4 separate regions of the Homo sapiens genome follow, and all the other regions are linked to region 1. Evidence: promoter capture Hi-C in 16 types of primary human blood cells and fetal thymus (Javierre and others, 2016). All regions are on one chromosome and are shown on one strand. The core of a region is centred on a gene start or on the middle of the fragment in contact, and the rest is flanking DNA. Distances in the headings are between cores, read along the strand shown.

Region 1 (2,933 bases), core at 301-2,800:
CCTACTGTACACTTTACTTGATACATAGTTTTGTTTTATTTCTACTCATACTCAAGTAAGATATATAGTTTTCAAAAGAGGCAAAACTAAACTGTTTAAGGATGCACACTTAAGCCAGGTGTTAAAATAACTGACAGAGATTGAGAGATTCATTAATTCCCTCATGTCAGGATGTAATTAATGTTCTGTACACTTTCTACTTTCATTCTTTTTTTCCTATTGGAAAATATAGTTAGATTTCCGTTAAGTGGCCATAATTTTATAGCACCTGGGACATAAAGTATTGAGCACAAATGAGAAATCAAATGTTTTAGGTAATGAGCATGAGACAGCATCAGAAGACAAGTTCTAGTTCTTACACTGCCATGAGTAGCTGTATGAATTGGGCAAGTGACTTCATCACTTCGGGCCTTAGTTTCTTCATCTGTTTTTTTTTTTTTTTAAAGTGGAGAGTGGGTGAGAAGGAGACTGGATCTCATCTTTCTGAAATGTCTTATTAAACATTCTATTATCCTATGATCATAAAGGAAACTCAACAAATATCTCCTATATTTCTATTAGGTCATTTTCAATATGTGTAAGCAATCTTATTTTATTTGCTTTAAAATCCAAAACCAAATATTTATCTTCATTTGATTTATTCATTATATTATCTGGGAAGCAGAGTAGTGTACTGATTAAGAGCATAGACTTCGGAGTCAGACAAAATTAAATTGAGTTTTATTTCTAACATTTGCTAGGTAGGGGACCTTGACATAACCTCTCCCATCTCACTTTCTTTGTCTTTTTTTTTTTTTAATAATGTCTACTCCATATAGTTGTTGCAAGTATTAAATTAAATAATGCATGTAAATCACTTGTCATAGTCTCAGTACATGGAAATCATATCCAATAAATACTACTGCCATTATAATCATAAGTGACAAGCCAGCTGCTCCCTTTGTGCACGTGTATACAGATATTTGGAGGGGGGCGGAGCGAATACGTAGAAGTAGCATGATAGCGTAGTGCAAATCAAGAGGTCAGTTGGCTTAGTCCCCTGTCAGTGTACTTACTGGACCTCAAGTTTCTGAAGGAGAATGTCTGTTCCCATTCCTTTTCCTACTGACCACTTCCTCCACATTCTCTAGCTCCCTGCCTCATATATTTGGCTTGGGCTTCGGAAGACTCTGCAGGATCCTTGTGCTTCTTTCTTGGTCTCTGGATGGACCGCAGAGTGTGCAGATGTAGCTTAAACTTGTTGCTGTTCGCCCACAGCTTCAGTGGCTCCAGACAGCTAGCAGATAGAATGACTTCAGCTTGAACGACTAATCTCATTGGCTTCTCAATTCCCAAGGACTTTTTTTCCTGAAAGGGAATTAACAGGTGAGTCTGTTGTTGCTTTGGCAACAAACTTTCAACCTCTACCTAACTCTCCGGAATGAGAACATATCTATTAATACATTCGCTAGACTGGGGAGTTGAGTCGCTCAATGCAAATTTTCTTTCAAGTGCAAAACAGCTTAATGGGCTCGGCTAGCCTTTGGTGGTGCTGCAGTTAGAGGCTAGTGAAGCGGAGAGCAGCTGTTGCAGTAACCTGTTGCAGAAAAGTGAAAGTATATCCGCAACAGTTGGCTCTGATTGCAGAGAGCGCGCTTGTGAGAACTGATGGCGGGTACGCGCAGAAAATCTTTGCAAAACAGGCAAGTGGGATCTCTTCTCATTTTTCTGTGCATATCTGTGGGGGATGCGACAACTATCCGCTATTCAGTGGCAGAGGAAATGGAGAGCGGCTCGTTTGTGGCCAACGTAGCTAAGGACCTAGGACTGGAGGTAGGGAAGCTGGCTGCGCGCGGGGCGCGGCTGGTTTCCGAGGGCAACAAAATGCATTTCCGGCTCCACCGCAAGACGGGAGATTTGTTTGTGAAGGAGAAACTGGATCGGGAGTCACTTTGTGGCAAAGCCGACCCTTGTGTTCTGCACTTTGAAGTAGTCCTGGTGGAGCCGCTGCAGTCCTTCCGGGCCGAGGTCAGGGTATTTGATATCAATGACAATGCCCCAGTTTTCCTAAACAAGGAGCCGCTTTTAAAGATTCCGGAGAGCACCCCTTTGGGTTCACGTTTTCCTCTGCAGAGCGCCCAGGATCTGGACGTGGGCCTTAACGGTCTCCAGAACTACACCCTGAGTGCCAATGGGTATTTCCACCTGCACACCCGCTTCTGCAGCCACGGGCCTAAATATGCTGAGCTGGTGCTGAACAAACCCCTGGACCGAGAGGAGCAGCCTGAAGTCAACTTGACAATTACGGCGGTGGACGGCGGGTCCCCGCCTAAGTCTGGCACAGCTCACATCCACGTGGTGGTTCTGGATGTCAACGACCACGTGCCCCAGTTCTCGCGACTGGTGTACAGAGCCCAGGTATCAGAGAACAGCCCCAATGGCTCTTTGGTGGCCACGGTGACTGCCGTGGACCTAGACGAGGGCACCAACAAAGCGATAACTTACTCTTTAGCTCAAAACCCAGAAGCAATTCTCAAGACGTTTCAGATTGACCCTCAAAATGGAGAAGTTCGACTAAGAGGACCCCTCGATTTTGAAGCCATTGAAACATACGACATTGACATTCAAGCTACAGATGGTGGAGGCCTCTCTGCCCACAGCAAAGTCCTGGTAGAAGTGGTGGATGTGAATGACAATCCTCCCGAAGTGATGGTCTCCTCTGTGTCCAGCCCACTCCCTGAAGACTCACCACCACAGACAGTAGTAGCCCTTTTCACTATCAGAGACCGGGACATTCGAGTGGGAGGAAAAGTCACCTGCTTCCTCAGAGAAGACCTTCCCTTTGTAATCAAACCTACATTTGGGAATTCTTACTCACTGGTCACTGACAGAAGCTTGGATCGGGAGGAGGTCTCAGGCTATAATATCACCATTGTTGCCATGGATACTGGACC
Region 2 (2,858 bases), core at 309-2,808, 160 kb before region 1:
GTGAATTTGAGCATATTGTCATATGTATTTTGTTGATTTGTATTTGATCTTCTTTGATTTATCCATTAAGTTATTTGCCTACTTTTCTATTGAAAAAAAATTTTTAGTTTCAGTTTGGAAAAGTTCTCTGTACCTTATAGATATTAACTGTTTATCTATTTTTTGACATTTTTAATTAAAATTTTTATTTTGAGATAATTATAGATTCGCATGTGGTTGAAAGAAATAGTAAAGGGAGATGCTATGTATTCTTCACTAAGTTTTCCCCAATAGTAACATCTTACAAAAGCGTAGGGCCATACCACAACCTGGATATTGACATTGATACAGTAAAGAAGTAACATAGTTCCGTAACAACCAGATTCTTGATATCACCTTTTTATAGCCACATCTGCTTCCCTGCCTAATGCTGGCAAGCAGTAATCTGTTCTCCATTTCTCTAATTTTGTTACTTTTACTTCAGAAATAAATAAAAGTATCTCTATTTATAGATAAAATTTTTTAAAATTATTTTTATATTTATTTATTTTTTATTACACTTTAAGTTCTGGGATACATGTGCAGAACGTGCAGGTTTGTTACATAGGTGTACATGCCATGGTGTGCTTATCTATTATCTGCATCACAAATATGTTTTCCTCCTATATTATTTCTATTCATTTGTTTGTACTAATTTTGTCATATATAAATGTTTTTAAAATGTATGAATTAAAATATATCTTTTTCCTTTTATGGATTTTAAGGTCTGCATATTCAGTTAGAAAGGTCTTCCCAGCTGGGCACGGTGGCTCACGCCTGTAATCCCAGCACTTTGGGAGGCCAAGGTGGGCGGATCAGGAGATCAGGAGTCCGAGACCAGCCTGGCCAACATGGTGAAACCCTGTCTCTACTAAAAATACAAAAATTAGCGAGGCATGGTGGCACGCGCCTGTAATCCCAGCTACTTGGGAGGCTGAAGCAAGAGAATTGCTTGAACCCGGGAGGTGGAGGTTGCAGTGAGATGAGATCATGCTACTGTACTCCAGCTCTGGGTGACAGAGCAAGACTTCGTCTTGAAAAAAAAAAAAAAAAAAAAGAAAGGTCTTCCCAACTCCTATATTGAACATTCATTAATTAAATGCATTTAATAAATACTTATTGAGTGTTCTCTATGTGCCAGGCATGTTCTACACATTAGACATTTAGCAACGAAATTTATTATTTTGTAAATCCAAATTTCCAGTTGGTATCACTTTCCTACTGCCTGAAAAATTTCTTTAATATTTTTTATAGTGCATATGTTCTGGCAACAAATTCACTCAGCTTTTGTCTGAGAAATATCTTTATCTCTTTTTTTTTTTTTGAGACGGAGTCTCACTCTGTCGCCCAGGCTGGAGTACAGTGGCGTGATCTCGGCTCACTGCAAGCTCCACCTCCCGGGTTCACGCCATTCTCCTGCCTCAGCCTCCCGAGTAGCTGAGACTACCGGCGCCCGCCACCACGCCCTGCTAATTTTTTGTATTTTTAGTAGAGATGGGGTTTCATCTTGTTAGCCAGGATAGTCTCGAACTCCTGACCTCGTGATCCACCTGGCTCGGCCTCCCAAAGTGCTGGGATTACAGGTGTGAGCCACCGCGCCCGGCTCTTTATCTCATTTTTATTTTTGAAAAAGTATTTTCACTGGGCATAGTTGACAGTTTTTTAAAAGATATAATTCAGTTGTCTTCTGGCTTGCATAGTTTCTAATAAGATGTTTGCTTTTTTATATATGAGTCTTCCTCTCCCCACCCCTCATGGTTACTGTTAAAACTTTTCTTTTTATCCTGACTTTTGCAGATTGATTGTGATGTGCTTTAGTATGGTTTTCTTTATGTTAGTCTGTTGGGGTTTGTTGATATTCTTGGATCTGTGGATTTATCATTTTCATCAAATTCAGGAAAAAATCAACCATACTTCTTCTAATAGTTTTTTCTTTCCTTCCATCCTTTCTGAGACTCCAGTAACACATATGTTACAATGACACAGGTCATTGAAGCGTTCTTTATTTTTGTCCATTTCTTTCTCTGTGCCTCATTTTGAATATCTTTTATTGACATATTTTCCAAGTTCACTAATTTTTCCTTTTGTAGTATCATATCTGTTAATCCTAAACAGTGTATTCTTCATTTCAGAGACCATATTTATTTCTTATCTGTATAAGATTCTTTTTGTCTCTTTTAAAATTTATTTTACATGTCTCCACCGAATAGTCATCTTTTTATCTATATGTTTGAGCATATTAGTACATGTATAATAGATGTTTTAACTTTCTTGTCTGCTAATTTCAACATTTTTGTCCTTAGTTTGCTTCTTTTAATCTATCTTCTTCTATGGATATATTTTCTTGCTGTTTTGCATGACTGGTAATCTCTAATAAGATGCTAGACATTGTGAATTTTACATTGTCGGATGCTGGATTTTGTGTGTGTGTGCATGTGTGTGCGTGTTCCTTTAAAGCAGTAGTTCTTGATAAGAAACAGTTTTGTCCCCTCTACCCCCTACCCAGGAGATAATTTGGCAATGCCTGGATACATTTTTGGTTATTACAACTAGGGAATTGCTACTGGCATCTAATAATGGAGCTCTGAGATGCTGCTAAACACCATCCAATTGCTGCCAAACATCCTACCGTGCACAGGACAGCCGCCCAACAATAAAGAATTAGCTCAAAATGTCAGTAGTTCCACTGTTGAGAAACTCTGCTTTAAAGAGTCTTGGACTTAGTTCTGACGTGAAGTTAAGTTGCTCAGTACCAATTTATTCCTTTCAAGGCTTCATTTTAAGATTTGTTAGTACACATTCAGAGCAGCTTTTAGTGTAGCACTAATTCGGCCTTCTAT
Region 3 (2,868 bases), core at 267-2,766, 230 kb before region 1:
TATCATTTTCTTATGTTTTTAACCATTGTGTATTAAAATATTTCAAAATTATCAGTATGAAAACTATTAGGCAAATAGTCTGGGAAATTGATTTGTGTTTCAACGATCCAAATATTAGTGAAAAGTCATGATAATAGAGATAGTAAAAATCTTATAAGGGAACTGGTAAATATATCTTTAAAGATTGTATCAGAAACAATTCTATGACAATATCTTGTTTCTTTACAAGTTTGAATTCCAGAAATCAAGTGAATTTCCTCTGACTTTGCATTTTCTGGTAATTTCTTTTTTCTTATCAAGCTATATTTTAAATGTAAAAGTATCCAACAATAGAATTGCTAATCTCTTGGTCCCTCTTGTCTTCACAGGTAAGGGATATTTTGTAATATTTAAGGAATTTTATGGAGTATATATACAAGCAGAATGTTAGCTATTTCTTCAATAGAAAACTTGGTGATATTTTCTTTTGCCCATATTTATTAAGTGAAGTTTACTAAATTTTCTAGGTCGTGTTCAAATCATACCATCCAGTAAACAGTTGGGAGATTAAAAAGTAATTAAACTAATATAAAGATAGCCTGGTTAATAAAATGATATTCTTTTCAACATGATTATATTTACTGGAACCTAAACATTTTGTGAAATAGTATGTCATATAGACAATATTAGGATTTTGACTTGTTATGTAAGTACAAAGGTATGTATTTTACAATTTTTAATAATTGCTTTATCAGTAATAGCAACTTGAAGAAATGCTATCTAGATGCTTCTAATTTGAAAATAGTGCAAAGACGATTTACCAAAGTCGTTCTATTATGCTTTTGATTTCTAGAAAGCTGAAATATCCCCATTACAGTTTTTGAGTCAATACAAAAAGTAGATAGGTGTTATAGATAAAGAAATAGGTTTTCATCGATTTGAAAATTAGAACTCCGAGAAGAAACTCAGGTAAGAATGCCATTAAAATAGTTTTAGTTGTTTTTGAAAATAACATCAACAAAATGTCACTATTAAACAGTGAAATTGGAATAAAAATTTGTTTTATGAGTAACACGGAGATAGCATACAAACATTCCATTGACTAATACAGAAAAAACTCAAAAGTTTTAATTAGATATGTTTAAATAGAGATGAGAAAAGTCAAAACTTTAACTCTTAAAAGTTATTTTTATCAGTTTGGAAATATATAAACTCCTCCCTATATAAAATACACCAGCACAAATTTCTCTAGTAAGGATTGGGGTTTCATGACTTTAGATGTATTTTTCTGTAATATTTTAATGACGCACTTATATTGACGCATTTTAAGATAGAGTTTAATGATATATTTTGACTAGAGATAAGTGATTTAAAGAATAAGAATCATGTCATTGAAAGTGAGAATACTTGAGAAATATTGACGAATATAAGCTAAATAAAGCAAAACAAAATAAAACACTTACCCTTTCATCCACATGATGTCGCTGGACACCGGAAGGTTTTTCTCCCTTCCCAGCCTCAAAGGAATACAGTGAGTAGATTTTCCTTAGACAGAAAGGAAAAGAACCTTCCATTTTTGGCTGTGCCAAGAAGCTCAGAAAGGCGATAATATAAAAAATATATAGTTAATTGGGAATTGAATTTACAAAATACATTGTGTGGTGATGCAATAGAAAGCTCATAATTGGAACGAGATTGAGATGGTATATTCCCGGAGAGGAAGTCTGGGATCCCGGCTCCTGCTGCTCTGGCTTCTCCTTGCCTACTGGAAGGCAGGGAGCGGCCAGCTCCACTACTCGATCCCGGAGGAAGCCAAACACGGAACCTTCGTTGGCCGCATCGCGCAGGACCTAGGGCTGGAGCTGGCGGAGCTGGTGCCGCGCCTGTTCCGGGTGGCGTCCAAGGGCCGCGGGGACCTTCTGGAGGTAAATCTGCAGAATGGCATTTTGTTTGTGAATTCTCGGATCGACCGGGAGGAGCTGTGCCGGCGGAGGGCGGAGTGCAGCATCCACCTGGAGGTGATCGTGGACAGGCCGCTGCAGGTTTTCCATGTGGAGGTGGCAGTGAAGGACATCAATGACAATCCGCCCAGGTTCTCCAGACAAGAACAAAGATTATTCATTTTAGAGTCAAGAATGCCAGATTCGCGGTTTCCGCTAGAGGGCGCGTCGGATTTGGATATTGGAGCAAATGCACAATTGAGATACAGGTTAAATCCAAACGAATATTTTGACTTAGATGTTAAAACAAATGAAGAAGAAACGAACTTTTTAGAGCTGGTTTTGAGGAAATCCTTAGATAGAGAAGAAACACAAGAACACCGTTTATTAGTGATTGCAACTGATGGAGGAAAACCCGAACTAACAGGTACAGTTCAGTTGTTGATCAATGTATTGGATGCTAATGATAACGCCCCAGAATTTGATAAATCCATTTATAATGTCAGATTGTTGGAAAATGCACCAAGTGGGACATTAGTTATTAAACTGAACGCCTCAGATGCAGATGAGGGCATCAATAAGGAAATAGTGTATTTCTTTAGTAATCTTGTTCTTGACGATGTAAAGTCCAAATTTATAATTAATTCTAATACTGGTGAAATAAAAGTTAACGGGGAACTGGATTATGAAGACTATAACTCATATGAAATTAATATTGATGCCATGGATAAAAGTACATTCCCATTATCAGGACACTGTAAAGTAGTAGTGAAACTCCTGGATGTGAATGATAATACCCCAGAGATGGCCATAACCACCCTTTTCCTGCCTGTCAAAGAGGACGCTCCACTCAGCACGGTCATTGCTCTGATCAGCGTGTCTGACCGTGACTCAGGTGCCAACGGGCAGGTGACCTGCTCCCTAATGCCCCACGTTCCCTTCAAGCTGG
Region 4 (2,785 bases), core at 162-2,661, 200 kb before region 1:
AAATAAGTAAGTTCCCCCCGGGAGAATATTGAGAATGATAGACATTTCTTGGAAAGAGAAAACATAAGGAAAGTTGAAGACACAGAAAGCATCAATATGACAAGTAGAAAAGTCCACTTTGGTTAAAACACACAGTCTGCAGAGAATGAAAGCAGGAAAACCAATGTAAGAAGATCTCTTGATTTCTGAGTAATAAACTAAAGGGCCATGAGTGATTAAGGAATTTGGCCACTCTTTAGAATTAATTGGGAGCTATTTAACTACCTTGAGCAAAATAAATCACGACTTTTGAAAGAAGGTTGAACGGGAAGACAAACTCAGAAGCTCCTGCAGTAATCAAGGACAGAAGCAATTGTTAAATGCACCTCTTAGGCTGTTATCAGTAGAAATACGAAATAAAAGATAAATATGCAAAAACATTAATGGCACAATAAACACTCACGGTTTTGCCTTTAGACTTGAGATACACTAAAATCTAGATTTAATTAATCGACTTGGACGTTGGAATAAGATAGTAAAACTCACAACAAAACTTTGTAGAACTTAGTCAGGAAAAGAATCTCAAGCATAGCTTTAAAAACAGAAATTGCCCCGAGTACTAAGGATGAGCAATAATGAAATTAAAACATATTGTAATAACATTACACAAACTATATTGGAGACTACAAAGAAGAGATTATTCATAGATTATAAAGCTTGGAAAGAATCAAAACAACACATTTCTGGAAACAGATTGTATAAATGCTACAAAAGAGAAAAATATATTTTCTCCCCACGCAACACAAGACCTTAAAGTCAATTCTCGCTTTTCTTGCAATATTTTATACCTTTTCAATTCATAGAATTACTCAAGAAAACTACCTCAGTTGGTTGCTACTTTTTGTTGATTCCTTTTACCAGACATGACTAAGTTTCTTTTTCATCAGTAGATTTCTGGGCTCCTATATTCACTAGAGATTGCAACTCCTGGATTTCTCTTACACTAGAATCCTATTTCGAGCCATATGGGAGATTCTGAATTCCAGAACAAAAGAATTTTGTAATTTAAAATTCGTGATTGCTCAATGGAATCATTTTAATTGTTACTTCATTTCTGTCGTTATTTAAAACTTAAGTGGAGAGTTTTCTCAGGGATAAGAAAACCACAATCAAGGTCATACAAAACTTTTAGAGGCAGTCAGTCTGCTAAGAAGGCTCCAGCAAGAGAAACGGGATCTTCTGTTTCAACAATCATTACTTAAGAAAAAATTAAGAAAATGAAATAAGTTTTGCAGAATAACTGTGAAATTTTTATTCATGAAATATGTACTTACACTTTGGGCCACGTGATGTCACTCTTTGCCGCGATGTTCTCTCTGAATCCAGACAAATACAGCCCTTTTCCCATGGGAAAGAGGCTCAATTCTTTTTCACTCTCTCTGTGCTGAACGATGGCGAACACAGCAGAATGGGACTGACGAAATCAGATGATTTCTTCTAATTTGGAGGCAATTTTCACTAATTAGAAGAAGACTGAGTATTTGAAATGTTATACTCAAGTCGAGGAGATCCAGAGGGTCAGCCTCTACTGCTCTCGCTTCTGATCCTCGCAATGTGGGTGGTGGGGAGCGGCCAGCTCCACTACTCCGTCCCGGAGGAAGCCGAACACGGCACCTTCGTGGGCCGCATCGCGCAGGACCTGGGGCTGGAGCTGGCGGAGCTGGTGCCGCGCCTGTTCCAGTTGGATTCCAAAGGCCGCGGGGACCTTCTGGAGGTAAATCTGCAGAATGGCATTTTGTTTGTGAATTCTCGGATCGACCGCGAGGAGCTGTGCGGGCGGAGCGCGGAGTGCAGCATCCACCTGGAGGTGATCGTAGACAGGCCGCTGCAGGTTTTCCATGTGGACGTGGAGGTGAAGGACATTAACGACAACCCTCCAGTGTTCCCAGCGACACAAAAGAATCTGTTCATCGCGGAATCCAGGCCGCTTGACTCTCGGTTTCCACTAGAGGGCGCGTCCGATGCAGATATCGGGGAGAACGCCCTGCTCACTTACAGACTGAGCCCCAATGAGTATTTCTTCCTGGACGTGCCAACCAGCAACCAGCAGGTAAAACCTCTTGGACTTGTATTACGGAAACTTTTAGACAGAGAAGAAACTCCGGAGCTTCATTTATTGCTCACGGCCACCGATGGAGGCAAACCCGAGCTGACTGGCACCGTTCAATTACTCATCACGGTACTGGACAACAATGACAATGCCCCAGTGTTCGACAGAACCCTGTATACGGTGAAATTACCAGAAAACGTTTCTATCGGAACGCTGGTGATTCACCCCAATGCCTCAGATTTAGACGAAGGCTTGAATGGGGATATTATTTACTCCTTCTCCAGTGATGTTTCTCCAGATATAAAATCCAAGTTCCACATGGACCCCTTAAGTGGGGCAATCACAGTGATAGGACATATGGATTTTGAAGAAAGTAGAGCACACAAGATCCCAGTCGAGGCTGTCGATAAAGGCTTCCCACCCCTGGCTGGTCATTGTACACTTCTTGTGGAAGTTGTGGATGTAAATGACAATGCTCCACAGTTGACTATCAAAACGCTCTCGGTTCCTGTAAAAGAGGACGCACAACTGGGGACAGTTATTGCCCTGATTAGTGTGATCGACCTAGACGCAGATGCCAACGGGCAGGTTACCTGCTCCCTGACGCCCCACGTCCCCTTCAAGCTGGTGTCCACCTACAAGAATTACTACTCGTTGGTGCTGGACAGAGCTCTGGACCGCGAGAGTGTGTCCGCC

Evidence for each region. The method cuts DNA at HindIII sites, captures the fragments that hold promoters and counts their contacts. A CHiCAGO score of 5 or more calls a contact.
Region 2: a fragment that was not itself captured here is called in contact with the fragment with the promoter of PCDHB1 in region 1 in 2 of 17 cell types (M1 macrophages and endothelial precursors); the score reaches 6.0 in M1 macrophages.
Region 3: a contact is called between the fragment with the promoter of PCDHA5 here and the fragment with the promoter of PCDHB1 in region 1, in 6 of 17 cell types (endothelial precursors, M2 macrophages, M1 macrophages and 3 more). The highest score is 9.6, in endothelial precursors.
Region 4: the fragment with the promoter of PCDHA9 here is called in contact with the fragment with the promoter of PCDHB1 in region 1 in 4 of 17 cell types (endothelial precursors, erythroblasts, neutrophils and 1 more); the score reaches 7.9 in endothelial precursors.

What each region holds. Positions count from the first base shown.
Region 1 is chr5:141,049,824-141,052,756 of GRCh38, forward strand. It overlaps PCDHB1 (protocadherin beta 1), which reads left to right and starts at 1,551. Exons shown (of 1, transcript NM_013340.4): 1 at 1,551-2,933. The coding sequence starts at 1,648. PCDHB1-AS1 (PCDHB1 antisense RNA 1) reads right to left here. Exons shown (of 4, transcript NR_105056.2): 3 at 1,056-1,347. It also overlaps PCDHB@. RefSeq lists an enhancer at 1,132-1,960. The HindIII fragment of the contact is 4,524 bases long and covers 1-2,871 here.
Region 2 is chr5:140,885,773-140,888,630 of GRCh38, forward strand. All of the region lies in intron 1 of PCDHA1 (protocadherin alpha 1), which reads left to right. The region is part of intron 1 of PCDHA2 (protocadherin alpha 2); the gene reads left to right. The region is part of intron 1 of PCDHA3 (protocadherin alpha 3); the gene reads left to right. All of the region lies in intron 1 of PCDHA4 (protocadherin alpha 4), which reads left to right. It also overlaps PCDHA5, PCDHA6, PCDHA7, PCDHA8, PCDHA9 and PCDHA10, and 4 more genes. Among named protein-coding and RNA genes, the nearest start is that of PCDHA13, 5.1 kb to the left of the region's middle. The HindIII fragment of the contact is 5,330 bases long and covers 1-2,858 here.
Region 3 is chr5:140,820,097-140,822,964 of GRCh38, forward strand. It overlaps PCDHA5 (protocadherin alpha 5), which reads left to right and starts at 1,517. Exons shown (of 4, transcript NM_018908.3): 1 at 1,517-2,868. The coding sequence starts at 1,680. The region is part of intron 1 of PCDHA1 (protocadherin alpha 1); the gene reads left to right. All of the region lies in intron 1 of PCDHA2 (protocadherin alpha 2), which reads left to right. The region is part of intron 1 of PCDHA3 (protocadherin alpha 3); the gene reads left to right. It also overlaps PCDHA4 and PCDHA@. The HindIII fragment of the contact is 13,774 bases long and covers 1-2,868 here.
Region 4 is chr5:140,846,971-140,849,755 of GRCh38, forward strand. PCDHA9 (protocadherin alpha 9) reads left to right here and starts at 1,412. Exons shown (of 4, transcript NM_031857.2): 1 at 1,412-2,785. The coding sequence starts at 1,526. The region is part of intron 1 of PCDHA1 (protocadherin alpha 1); the gene reads left to right. The region is part of intron 1 of PCDHA2 (protocadherin alpha 2); the gene reads left to right. The region is part of intron 1 of PCDHA3 (protocadherin alpha 3); the gene reads left to right. It also overlaps PCDHA4, PCDHA5, PCDHA6, PCDHA7, PCDHA8 and PCDHA@. The HindIII fragment of the contact is 21,410 bases long and covers 694-2,785 here.